3 separate regions of the Homo sapiens genome follow, and all the other regions are linked to region 3. The links are contacts of gene promoters, found by promoter capture Hi-C in human tissues and cell types (Jung and others, 2019). All regions are on one chromosome and are shown on one strand. The core of a region is centred on a gene start or on the middle of the fragment in contact, and the rest is flanking DNA. Distances in the headings are between cores, read along the strand shown.

What was found. The method cuts DNA at HindIII sites, captures the fragments that hold promoters and counts their contacts. A contact is called where the count stands out against the background at its distance.
Region 1: a fragment that was not itself captured here is called in contact with the fragment with the promoter of DIO3 in region 3 in 2 of the 25 tissues and cell types used here (H1 embryonic stem cells and IMR-90 fibroblasts).
Region 2: a fragment that was not itself captured here is called in contact with the fragment with the promoter of DIO3 in region 3 in 3 of the 25 tissues and cell types used here (H1 embryonic stem cells, IMR-90 fibroblasts and mesendoderm cells).

Annotation. Positions count from the first base shown.
Region 1 is chr14:101,374,075-101,377,894 of GRCh38, forward strand. No RefSeq gene overlaps it. Among named protein-coding and RNA genes, the nearest start is that of LINC00524, 32 kb to the right of the region's middle. The HindIII fragment of the contact is 6,318 bases long and covers 1-3,820 here.
Region 2 is chr14:101,342,516-101,345,960 of GRCh38, forward strand. No RefSeq gene overlaps it. Among named protein-coding and RNA genes, the nearest start is that of LINC00524, 64 kb to the right of the region's middle. The HindIII fragment of the contact is 3,603 bases long and covers 1-3,269 here.
Region 3 is chr14:101,559,276-101,562,991 of GRCh38, forward strand. DIO3 (iodothyronine deiodinase 3) reads left to right here and starts at 2,220. Exons shown (of 1, transcript NM_001362.4): 1 at 2,220-3,716. The coding sequence starts at 2,222. The coding sequence ends at 3,136. It overlaps DIO3OS (DIO3 opposite strand upstream RNA), which reads right to left and starts at 1,147. Exons shown (of 2, transcript NR_152588.1): 1 at 977-1,147. MIR1247 (microRNA 1247) reads right to left here and starts at 1,147; the gene lies at 1,012-1,147. The HindIII fragment of the contact is 20,870 bases long and covers 1-3,716 here.

The DNA of each region.
Region 1 (3,820 bases), core at 441-2,940, 190 kb before region 3:
ACTGCCTTTGCCCCGCTGCTGCGGCCGGGCTGCCCTCAGCTTCCCACGTGGCCCACAGTCCACTCAGTTCCTGCGTTCCACACCGACCCTCCTGCCGCGTGTGGGCTTGCCTGTCTGTCTTCCCTACCAGATGACAAATGCCGCTTAGAACCACCGCTGGGTCTCATTGATCCTGAACCTCCACTGCCTAGTAAAGTTTTCCTCCTTTTAAACCTTTACCTTGACAGCTCTTTTCTAGATTCATTCAACAAATGCACCATTAATTTATGACAACGAAGACTAAACCAGACCTGGAATGCTCAGTTAGTGATTAGCGACACCCTGTCTTGAACCACCGCGTGACTAAGGGCAGAGCCAAGCTGTCTCTATCTTTGTTTCTGGCAGTCGGAGGATCAAGGCACTAATACGCTTACTGTGCCCAGACAGCCCTCCTTTTACCTGGCATCCCATTCACTCATTCCGTCGTCTGTGCAACAAACACTGACCACCCCTCCAGACAAGGACTGAGATGCCCGACACCCGATTCCTGCCTTGAAGGAGCTCTCTGTCTAACGGGAAGACAGGACAGGAACCCACGCAGCCAAAATCAACTGCAGAACGCAACTTCCTTCACTAGTGTCTATAACAGCCTTGTCACAGGGTGATAATTGCTGCATCTACTTTCCCTCGACGGCAGACATTGAACAGTAGGCACTCAGTAAGTATTCGGTGAATGAATAAACAATTACAGAAGAGCGCTGCCAGATGCAGATGGCAGGAGGAAGAAGAACCACAGACTCCTCCTCCTCCTCCAAGACCCAACCAAAGGAAAAGAATTCATTAGAGCAAAATTCACTAGCAATAACCACCTTGTGCCATAAACATGAAAAAGGGCAGCCAAGGGAAAAGCAGGAGATGCTGGTTTGGCACAAGGTCGTGTGATTCCTAACCCCACCCTCAACCCCTGGAAGCTTTCCTAAGGAAAGAAATTGAGACTGAGAATTCTCCCAGAACTCCTGCAGTGGGCGGCCTATGGGGCAGGGCTGCAGGGACAGCCAGGCAAAAGTGAAGTTAGAGCTCTCAGGAGTAGAAGTTCCTGCACTTCACAATGGGAGCTCAGCAAGGGAAACACATTTGGCATTTTCCAGGGCGTGAGGCTGCCAGATTTAGCACATGAGAAGGTGCCAAAATGTCCCCTTGGGGACATACTTATACTTAAAAAATTATGCATTGTTTATCTGAAATTCAAATTCAACTGGGCATCCTGTATTTTATCTGGCAAGTCCACCAGGGCACTGTGCTGAGTTAGAATAACAATTTGTGGCCTGTGGGAGGGAGAACATGCCCACAGCTGAGTGAAGTGGTCCTGGGACAGAACACTCAAGGGAGGTGTCCAACAGGGACCACCTCCGCTACCCCTCACTCCCTGAAAACTTAGACAATAGGATATCTGATTGAGAGTAGTCTTCAAAGTACAGCCCAAGGAGAGAATGACAAACTAGCCCCCGGTAAGATGGGGAAACGTATCACAGAATGCATCGCACAAATAGGAAAGCTAGATGGAGCTGCCTCTGCCATATATCATGAAAAGAATGAAAAATAGCAAGGCGATAAATGCACATGTACTACCCAAAGAAGGATGGGAAGGGAGGAGAGAGAACAAAGAGGAAGGGAATGAGAGAAATCGTTGAAGAATAAAGTCTGGGAGAAAACGCAGGATCAGATTCCCTGTGAGTGCTGCATACCAAAGAATGAATGGCTGGCTGAATAGATAGATAGATAGACAGACAGACAGATACATAGATAGAGAGATAGAGAGATAGATAGATAGATACATACATACATAGATACATAGAGAGATACATAGATACATAGATAGATGATAGATAGATGATAGATAGATAGATAGACAGATAGATACATAGATACATAGAGAGATACATAGATACATAGAGAGATAGATAGACAGATAGATGATAGGCAGATAGATAGATGATGGATAGACAGATAGATGACAGATAGATGATAGATAGGCAGACAGATAGATGATAGGCAGATAGATACAGATAAATTAGATATATAGACAGATAGATTAGATAGATAAATTAGATACATAGATACGTATGCATATGTTTGAATATATCTATATCTACATATAATATATATGTATACATTTGTATATATGAATACTACTCATATATATATATATATGAATACAACTATACAAAAACCAAAAGGTGCAAGTATAAAATAAAAGAATAATATTGACCAGCTAAGAAACCTTAGAGCCAATTTATAAATCAAATAAATAAATTACAAACAAGAAGAGATCTGACACTTGGAAACTAAATTAATGACATGGAGTTATGATCTGAGGTCATGACCGGAAATGCAGAAGAAAAAAAATAAAGAGTTGGGAGTGATTAAAGAGAAGATCATGGATATGGAGGACAGGCAGGGCATTCAAACGAAGGAAAACAAATGTCCCTCAAGCAGACAACTCACTAAATGGAATAGAAGACATTATTCCAAGATATAACACAAGACATTTTTCCTGAAGTGAAGGAAAAAGTGGATATACCAATTGAAAGATTACTAATATACCAGGAAGGCTTCAGATATACCCTGGTTGTTACTAAGCACCAATCAATGTCAAAGAGCTCATTATTTAAGCATAAAACTAGAAAAAAGCAAATAACTTACAAGGTGGAAAAAATCTGTTAATCTCAGACATCACAGAATCATTCAGCAATAGAAGACAACAGAGCAATTTCTTACTTTGCCAAATTACCCTTCAAGAAGAAAACAAAAGGCAAGCATTCTCAAACATTAAAGAATTCAGTAATATAAAACCTATGAATCCTTCTCAAAGGAAACACTGAAACAATAATCCAGCTAAGCAAAAGATGAGTAAAATTTTAAAAACTCTAGTATAGGTGAGCCTTGGTAAAGAGGTGTCAGTGAGCAATGCAGATGTTTGCAACTATAGCAGAAATCATACAATGGAGAATTATGCTTTGCTGATGGTAAATATTATAAACTCCGGTGCAGCAGACAGGGAGGTGCTCCTCTCAGACCCCTTTCAGGACCTAATGGGGGATCCCGACTTCAGGATCCAGCTGTAAGGGGTTAGGCAACAGCCTCCAGCTGTTAACTCTCAGCTTCTGAGCCAAAGTCATGCTCTTCTTGGGGCAGCCCCCAGCCAGTGACTGAGCAAGTCAGCGATGGAGGGGCCTGGTCTGTTCCACCCAAAGTGGGTCTCCTCTGAGGGACAGTCTTTGCTCTGGAGCCTCTCACTGGACTGGCAGAGTTTCCTGGTCTGCATCAGAGGCTGACCGCTTTCCCTGCCCTTTTCTTCCACAAGTGTTACTCCCTAATAACCTTTGCGCTTCCCTTTATTCTTGAAGAATCCAAGCCTGCACACATAGCAAAGCAAAAATAATATATGCAACAAAAATAGGTAGACTGAGAAAGGAGGAATGGAGTGGTGTAAGGAAGCCACTCACCTCATTTTCTACAGTGGGGAGTTAAGACGTACTGCAAAAAATTAAAGCATAATGAGACCGGGAGCAGTGACTCACACCTGTAAATCCCAGCACTTTGGGAGGCTGAGGCAGGTGGATCACTTGAGGTCGGGAGTTCGAGACCAACCTGACCAACATGGAGAAACCCCGTTTCTACTGAAAGTACAAAAAACTAGCCAGGCATGGTGGCACATGCCTGTAATCCCAGCTACTCGGGAGGCTGAGGCAGGCAAATCGCTTGAATCCGGGAGGCGGAGGTTGTGGTGAGCTGAGATCGTGCCAGTGCACTCCAGCCTGGGCAACAAGAGCAAAACTCC
Region 2 (3,445 bases), core at 218-2,717, 220 kb before region 3:
AATGGTAAATGTTTGAGGTGATAGATATACTAGTTACCTCGCTTTTCATTACACATTGTATACACATATCGAAATATCACATCTACCCCATAAATATGTACAATTCTTATGTGTCAATTAAACATTTGAAGAAGGAAGGAAAATTTGACACAATATTACAACATGAGTGAATCTTAAAGATGTTATTCTAAATAAAATAAGCCACACACAAGAGGACAAATACTGTACTATTCCAAGATTAAGAAAGTAGAATGGTGGTTATCAGGAGCTGGGTGGAAGGTAGAAATTGGGTGTTCTTGTTTAATGGGGACATAGTTTTAACTTGGAAGGATAAACATGTTCTAGAGTGGATGATGGTGATGGTTGCACCACAATGTGAATGTACATAATGCCACACAACTGTACACATAAAAATGGCTAAGATAGTAACTTTCATGTTCTGTATATTTTACCACAATAAAAAAATATATAGGTAAAATTTCTTTCTTTTCTTTTTTTTTTTTTTGAGACAGAGTCACCCAGGCTGGAGTGCAGTGGTGCAATCTCGACTCACTGCCACCTCTGCCTCCTGGGTTTAAGTGATTCTCCCGCCTCAGCCTCCCGAGTAGCTTGGACTACAGGTGCCCACCATCAGGCCTGGCTAGTTTTTGTATTTTTATTACAGATGGGATTTCACCATGTTGGCCAGCCTGGTCTCAAACTCCTGGCCTCAAGTGATCCACCTGCCTTGGCCTCCCGAAGAGCTGGAATTACAGGTGTGAGCCACCATGCTCTGTCCATAGGCAGAATTTCTGTTTCTGACCATGATGCAGTCACAGGAACTAGCTTTGCCCTCCCACACTAAACAACCAAACAACCAGACAAAACAACTATAAAAAAAAAAAAGACAATGATTTTTGGACACAGAACAACAGGCCACACAGAGCAGAGATCCTTTAAAGAAGGGAAACAAATGGGCAAGCCTTACCACGGTCCTCACTTACCACCTAGAAATCCTTTCCAGGCTACGTTCCAGGGAAAGCTGACCCAAACAGAGCCTGCTGTTCCCTCAAAGGAGGAGACAGAGCTGAGAACCCAGGGAGGCCCAGGCAGCTAGAATTGTAGGGCAGAGTTCAACGAGGCTTCCCCTGGAGACTTCCATGGAGTACTGATGGATGTATGCCTGCAAGACAACTACCAAGGCCAGGAAACTCCCACCAGAAAGGAACAGGCAGAAAAATGTGTGAGTCTCAGTGGGCCAGGAACAGATTGTGTTCTCACCAGTCCAAGTAGAGAAACTTTGTAATACCCAAGGCATCAGGTAGAGTACTCAGAAGGCTATTGCCACAAGAGCAAAGTAAAATCATCCCTACACCAATGGCCATCCTGGTTTCCCCTGACAACGCTTTAAAGTAAACCTCAAAAAGGATCAGGCTGTTTCCAAGTAACACAATGGCTTCCAAGGATAACACTCAAGAACATGTAAAGGAATATAAAGTTATCCGGCACCTACAAAATAAAATGTACAATGCTGGCATCCAATGGAAAAGAATGCAAAGTAATAGAAAAATATGACCCAGAATCAGGAATATCAATCAATAGAAACAGACCCAGAAATGACACAGATGATAGAGTTAGTGGACAAAGATGTTAAAAAGTTATCATATTTTGTATGTAGAGTTAGTCGACAAAGATGTTAAAAAGTTATATTTTGTATGTAAAGAAGGTAGAGGAGAACATAAGAATATTGAAAAAGAGGCATTGGAAGTTGTAGAAAAGAAGACACAAATTGAATTGATAGAGTTTTTTTTAAAGCTTAGGATGAAGTGTAGATTACACTATAGAAAAAAAAATGTAGTGTACCTGAAGACACAGAAATGCAAGCCACACAAAATAAAATAAAGAAAGTAAAAAGATGGGGGAAGGGGAGACTGACCAGAGAATTAGCATTGCTGGGACAAATTCAAATGTCCCAATCTACATGTAATTGGAGTCCCTGAAGGAGAGGCAGATGGGAAAAAATTGAAGAAATTATGATTGAAATGTTTCCAAATTCTATAAAAACTATAAACCCACAGATACAAGAAGTTTGAAGAACCTCAACCACTGTACATCATAGTAAAATTGCCCAAAAGCAGTGATATAGAGAAAACTTTAAAAGCATTCAGCATAAGGGAGGGAGAAATGCTTTATGTACAGAAGAACAAATGTAAGAATGAGAGCCAAATTCTTATCAGAAACAAAGTATGCCAAAAGATAATACAGCAACATCTGAAAGTGAAAACAACTGTCCATCTAGAATTATTTACCCACCAAGAAAAATTATCTTTCAAAAATAAAGGCAAAAAGGAAGACCTTTTCAGATACACAAAAGCTGAAGAAGTCCATTGCCAGCAGACCTTCACTTGCAAGAAATGGTCAAGTAAGCCCTTTGAGCAGAAGACAAATGTTAACAGATAGAAATCTAGATGTATGCAAAGAAACGAAGAGCACCAGCAATGGTCCATATTGAATAAATATAAAAGGCATTTTCTCTTATTTAAAAAAAAATCTCTTTAAAAGATAATTGACTATTTCAAGTAAGCTTAATAATGAGGCTTAAAGTATATGAAGAAATGAAAGGCATAACAGCAATAGCACAAAGGCTGGAAAGGGAGAAACAGGAGTACAGCTTGGTAAGATGGTTGTGCTGTATGGGAGGTAGTCTAATATTACTCAAAGACAGACTGTTATAAATTTAAGATTTATACTGAAAGTCCTAAAGCAACCTCTATTTAAAAAATATATGTAGCAAAAGGCTGGGCATGGTGACTTACGCTTGTCATCCTAGCATTTTGGGAGGCCAGGGCAGGAGGATTACTTGAGCTCAGGAGCTCGAGACCAGCCTGGGAAAAATAGTGAGACCTCATCTCTTTAAAAAAAAAAAAAAGGATCAAATTGATAAACCACTCTCCAGACAGATCTGGAAAAAGAAAGAGAAAAAAGCAAATTGCCAATATCAGAAATAAGAGAGAAAAAGGATATCACTGAAAATACTGCAGACAATAAAATGACTATGAGAGAATATTATGAGCAACTTTCTATAAATAAACTCAATAATTTCAATAAAATGGAAAAAGTCCTTGAAAGACATGAACTGCCAGATCTCACTCAAGAACAGGTTATCCAAATAGCCCAGCTTCATATCTATTAAAGAAATGTAATTTGCTGTTTAAAATCTTCTCACAGAGAAAATCCCAGGGCCACTTGGCTTAACTAGAGAATTCCACCAAGCATTTAGGAAAGAAACAAAATCAAGTTTACACAAATTCTTTCAATAACCTAAAGAAGAGGAACATTTTACAACTTATTCCATGGGGAAGTATTACTCTGATACCAAAATGAGAAGACAGTATTACAAAAAAACTACAGAGTAATATATATTATGAACACAGATGCAAATATTCTTAAAGAAATCGGAGTATAT
Region 3 (3,716 bases), core at 970-3,469:
AAAAAAGAGGCCAGAAAAGAGGATGATTGGCTAACTCAGAGGTGCCCTGATGGAGGGGAGCAAACAAGGGGACTTCCAAGGAGAATTCCCTAGCCCACCTGAAAGACCCCTACCCAGAGTGGTGAGGGGCAGCTTAGGAGCACTGACGCAAGGGGGAGAGACCAGGCTGGCTTCCCTCTACGTAGTAAGTTCCTGGGGTGTGCGCCCCTGCCCCAGACAGCAGAGAAATCGCCTGACTGGGAGATGGAGAAGAGGGGCCACCTTCTCATGCCACCCCGCCGCCAATCCTCCAGGCACACTCGGGCGCTTGACCTGCTGAAGCCTGTAGCCTCAGGTCCAGTGAGGAGCTCACGGGACAGAGGGCCCTACCAGAGCCACGAAAACCGGAGGGGGGGACCTCCGCCCAAGGCAGGCGTCTCTGCGCGCCCGCTGGGGCCCTGGTCCTGCAGTTGGCTTCTCCCGACACGTTCCTTCGCTGCCGAAAGCGATTCGCCCGCGCTCTACCGAGCCCAGCCAGCTCCTACCTCGGCCCGGGCGGCGAGCGCTGTCTCCGTCCCGAGAAGAAGTTTCGCGGCTGGTCCCGGGGCGGCAGGCGCACGGGACGCTGGCGGCGGCGGCGGCTTCCGACTTGGGCTCAGACCCCGCCGCTCCAGACAAGTCCCCGCGACTGCGACAGTGTCTCGGGCAGTTCAGCTCCCCAGACGGGAGACAGACCCTCGCGACCTGGTTCAGGCCTTGCCCTGGGGGACACTGCAGTCCAAGGCGAAAGGAGACTTGCTCCCGGCCTCTGGGTCCCTAGGTCAAGGCACCTCCCCGCCCCGCCGCCCCTGAGCCCAAGTCGCCAACCCCGCGCCGCGCGCAGCGAGGGATCAGAAGGTCTCGGACGCCGCGGCAGGGCCGGCCAGGGCCCCACGAGTTAGGGAGTTGCCCCGCACCCCTAAACGCTCAGCACCCATTTACGGTTGAAAGTACGCACTTGACGCGTCCGGGCGCCTCCGCGGTGAGTCGCGCCGCCGCTCTCGGGGTCCGCGAAGGTGGCTCAGTTCGGGCGCTCCAGTCTCGACGTTCCCGGGGTAGAGAGCAACGTCCGGGGACGAACGGGACGGGTGCGCCCAGCGGCCGGGGCTGCGCTGGGCGAGGCAAGCGGCGAGAGGGGAGCGCTCCGGCGTTCAGGCAACAGCTACCCCTAGTGGGAGAGCCGCCCGGGGCCGGCGCCGCCCCGCGCCCGCTGCCCCGCGCCCCACGCCCGTGGCGCCCCGCGCCCGGGTCGGCTGGGGGCGCAGGGCCGGCGCCGCTTTCCCCAGCTCTCCGGTCTCCGGCGCCCGGCGGTAACCCGCCCGCGGGCTCTGCCCTCCGCACCTCTCAGCCCGGCCCCGGCGGCCGCTGACCCAGGAACCGCGGCGCCCCGCTGGAACGAGATGGGACGGGGCGGGCGCGGCCAGGGCGGCGCGGGCTGGGGCGGCGCGCGGCAGCCTCGGGCAGCGGCGGGGGGCGCGGAGCGCGGTGTGCGTGGCGGGGCGGTGCGGGGGGCGGCCGTGTGCGAGGCGCGAGTGTGAGCGCGCGCGGGAGGCGGGCGGGCGGGCTCCGGCAGGCGAGCGGCGCCCGCGGGCGAGCCAGGAAGGCGGCGGGAACGCAAAGTTGCCTCCTCGCTGGCCCGCGTCCTCGGTGGGGCGGGAGCCGGGGCCACCGAAGCGGCGGCCGCGGACCCGGCCTCCCGCGGCACCTGGGCAGCGGCCCCGCACGAGCGGCAGCGGCGTGGGCGGCGTTGGCGGCGGCGCGCGGGAAGCGAACCGGAGCTCCGGCGCGGCTCGGCGGCCGCCGGGGAGCTCGGCTCAGGTGCGCGGCGAGGGGGGCGCGGGCCGGAGCCAGGCGGCGGGGACCAGGGCGGCGCGCAGCGCTCGCGCCAGCTGGAGGACCTCCCCAGCGGACGCCCAGGTCCCTGGTCGGGCTCCCGGTCCCCAGCGGCAGCGGCTGCCGGAGTCCCCCGCCCCCGAGAGCTGGCTGCGGGGCCCGGGCCCGCCCCCACCGGCCCCAGGCCCGGCCGCTCCGCCCTCCGCCCGCCTGCGCCCGCCCTCAGCCCAAGATTTCTAGGGCATTGGCCGCGCTGCTGGGTGATCCCTCCGGGCTCAAGTTGCAAGGGGGCGGGCCGGGCCGGAGGTGGAGTCTCCCGCCAATTGAAGCCTCCGCTATAAATTGAACTCCCTGCACTGCTGAAGCCCAGATGCCTCGCCAGGCCACGTCGCGGTTGGTGGTCGGAGAGGGCGAGGGGTCCCAGGGGGCTTCGGGGCCTGCAGCCACCATGCTCCGCTCCCTGCTGCTTCACTCCTTGAGGCTCTGCGCCCAGACCGCCTCGTGCCTCGTGCTCTTCCCGCGCTTCCTCGGCACGGCCTTCATGCTCTGGCTTCTCGATTTCTTGTGTATCCGCAAGCATTTCCTGGGCCGCCGCCGCCGGGGGCAGCCCGAGCCCGAAGTGGAGCTCAACAGTGAAGGCGAGGAGGTGCCTCCCGATGACCCGCCCATCTGCGTGTCCGACGACAACCGCCTGTGCACCCTGGCGTCGCTCAAGGCGGTGTGGCATGGCCAGAAGTTGGATTTCTTCAAGCAGGCGCACGAGGGCGGTCCGGCGCCCAACTCCGAGGTGGTTCTGCCCGACGGCTTCCAGAGCCAGCACATCCTCGACTACGCGCAAGGGAACCGCCCGCTGGTTCTCAATTTCGGCAGCTGCACCTGACCACCGTTCATGGCGCGCATGAGCGCCTTCCAGCGCCTGGTCACTAAGTACCAGCGCGACGTCGACTTCCTCATCATCTACATCGAGGAAGCGCACCCCTCCGACGGCTGGGTCACCACGGACTCTCCCTACATCATCCCACAGCACCGGAGCCTGGAGGACCGGGTCAGCGCAGCGAGGGTACTGCAGCAAGGTGCACCCGGCTGCGCTCTGGTCCTCGACACCATGGCCAACTCCAGCAGCTCGGCCTATGGCGCCTACTTCGAGCGTCTCTATGTCATCCAGAGTGGCACTATTATGTACCAGGGCGGCCGTGGCCCCGACGGCTACCAGGTCTCTGAGCTGCGCACTTGGTTGGAACGCTATGATGAGCAACTGCACGGCGCTCGGCCCCGGAGGGTGTAAACATCCAACGGACAATTGACTGAACTTGGTGGGCTGGGCCTTCGAGCCTTCGAAGCCCACGTGCAAGCGCCTCAAACCAAGTCACGCTTGGCGAGGCCCCAGTGACACTGATGTGCTGAGCCACCATTTCAGACTGAGTCTGCACCCTCAGCCACATGAACAATCTCCCCTACCTCCCTGGGACTCTGCTTCTGTAACTGTCTCATTCACACCTGCCTGGCTCACTGGAAATCCTCTTTTGAGCGCGGGATATGGCTTGCCCTTGTCCGTGTGCCCCCAGGACTTTGCCTCTACAGCATTTTCTTACACCCCCTCCCCAGCGTGCCCTCAGCCAAGTGCTTTGGCCCGGTGCTTCCCGCAGCTGCACAGAGACCTTGGCCACGCCCGCGCGCCCTGAGCGCAGCTGGGTTCCAGGAGACTCTCAGCTCAGCTGAGCTAGTTGCCTGGCACCCACCTGTCGCGCGCGGAGAGGGGGTTCCCTGTTGCTTTTGTGTCTGTTTCCTGTCCCTGGTAGGGGAAGTGATGTCGTGGATGGGGAGGGGTGGGCAGGGTAGTTTCCCCCGCTTGTTTTGGGTGCACA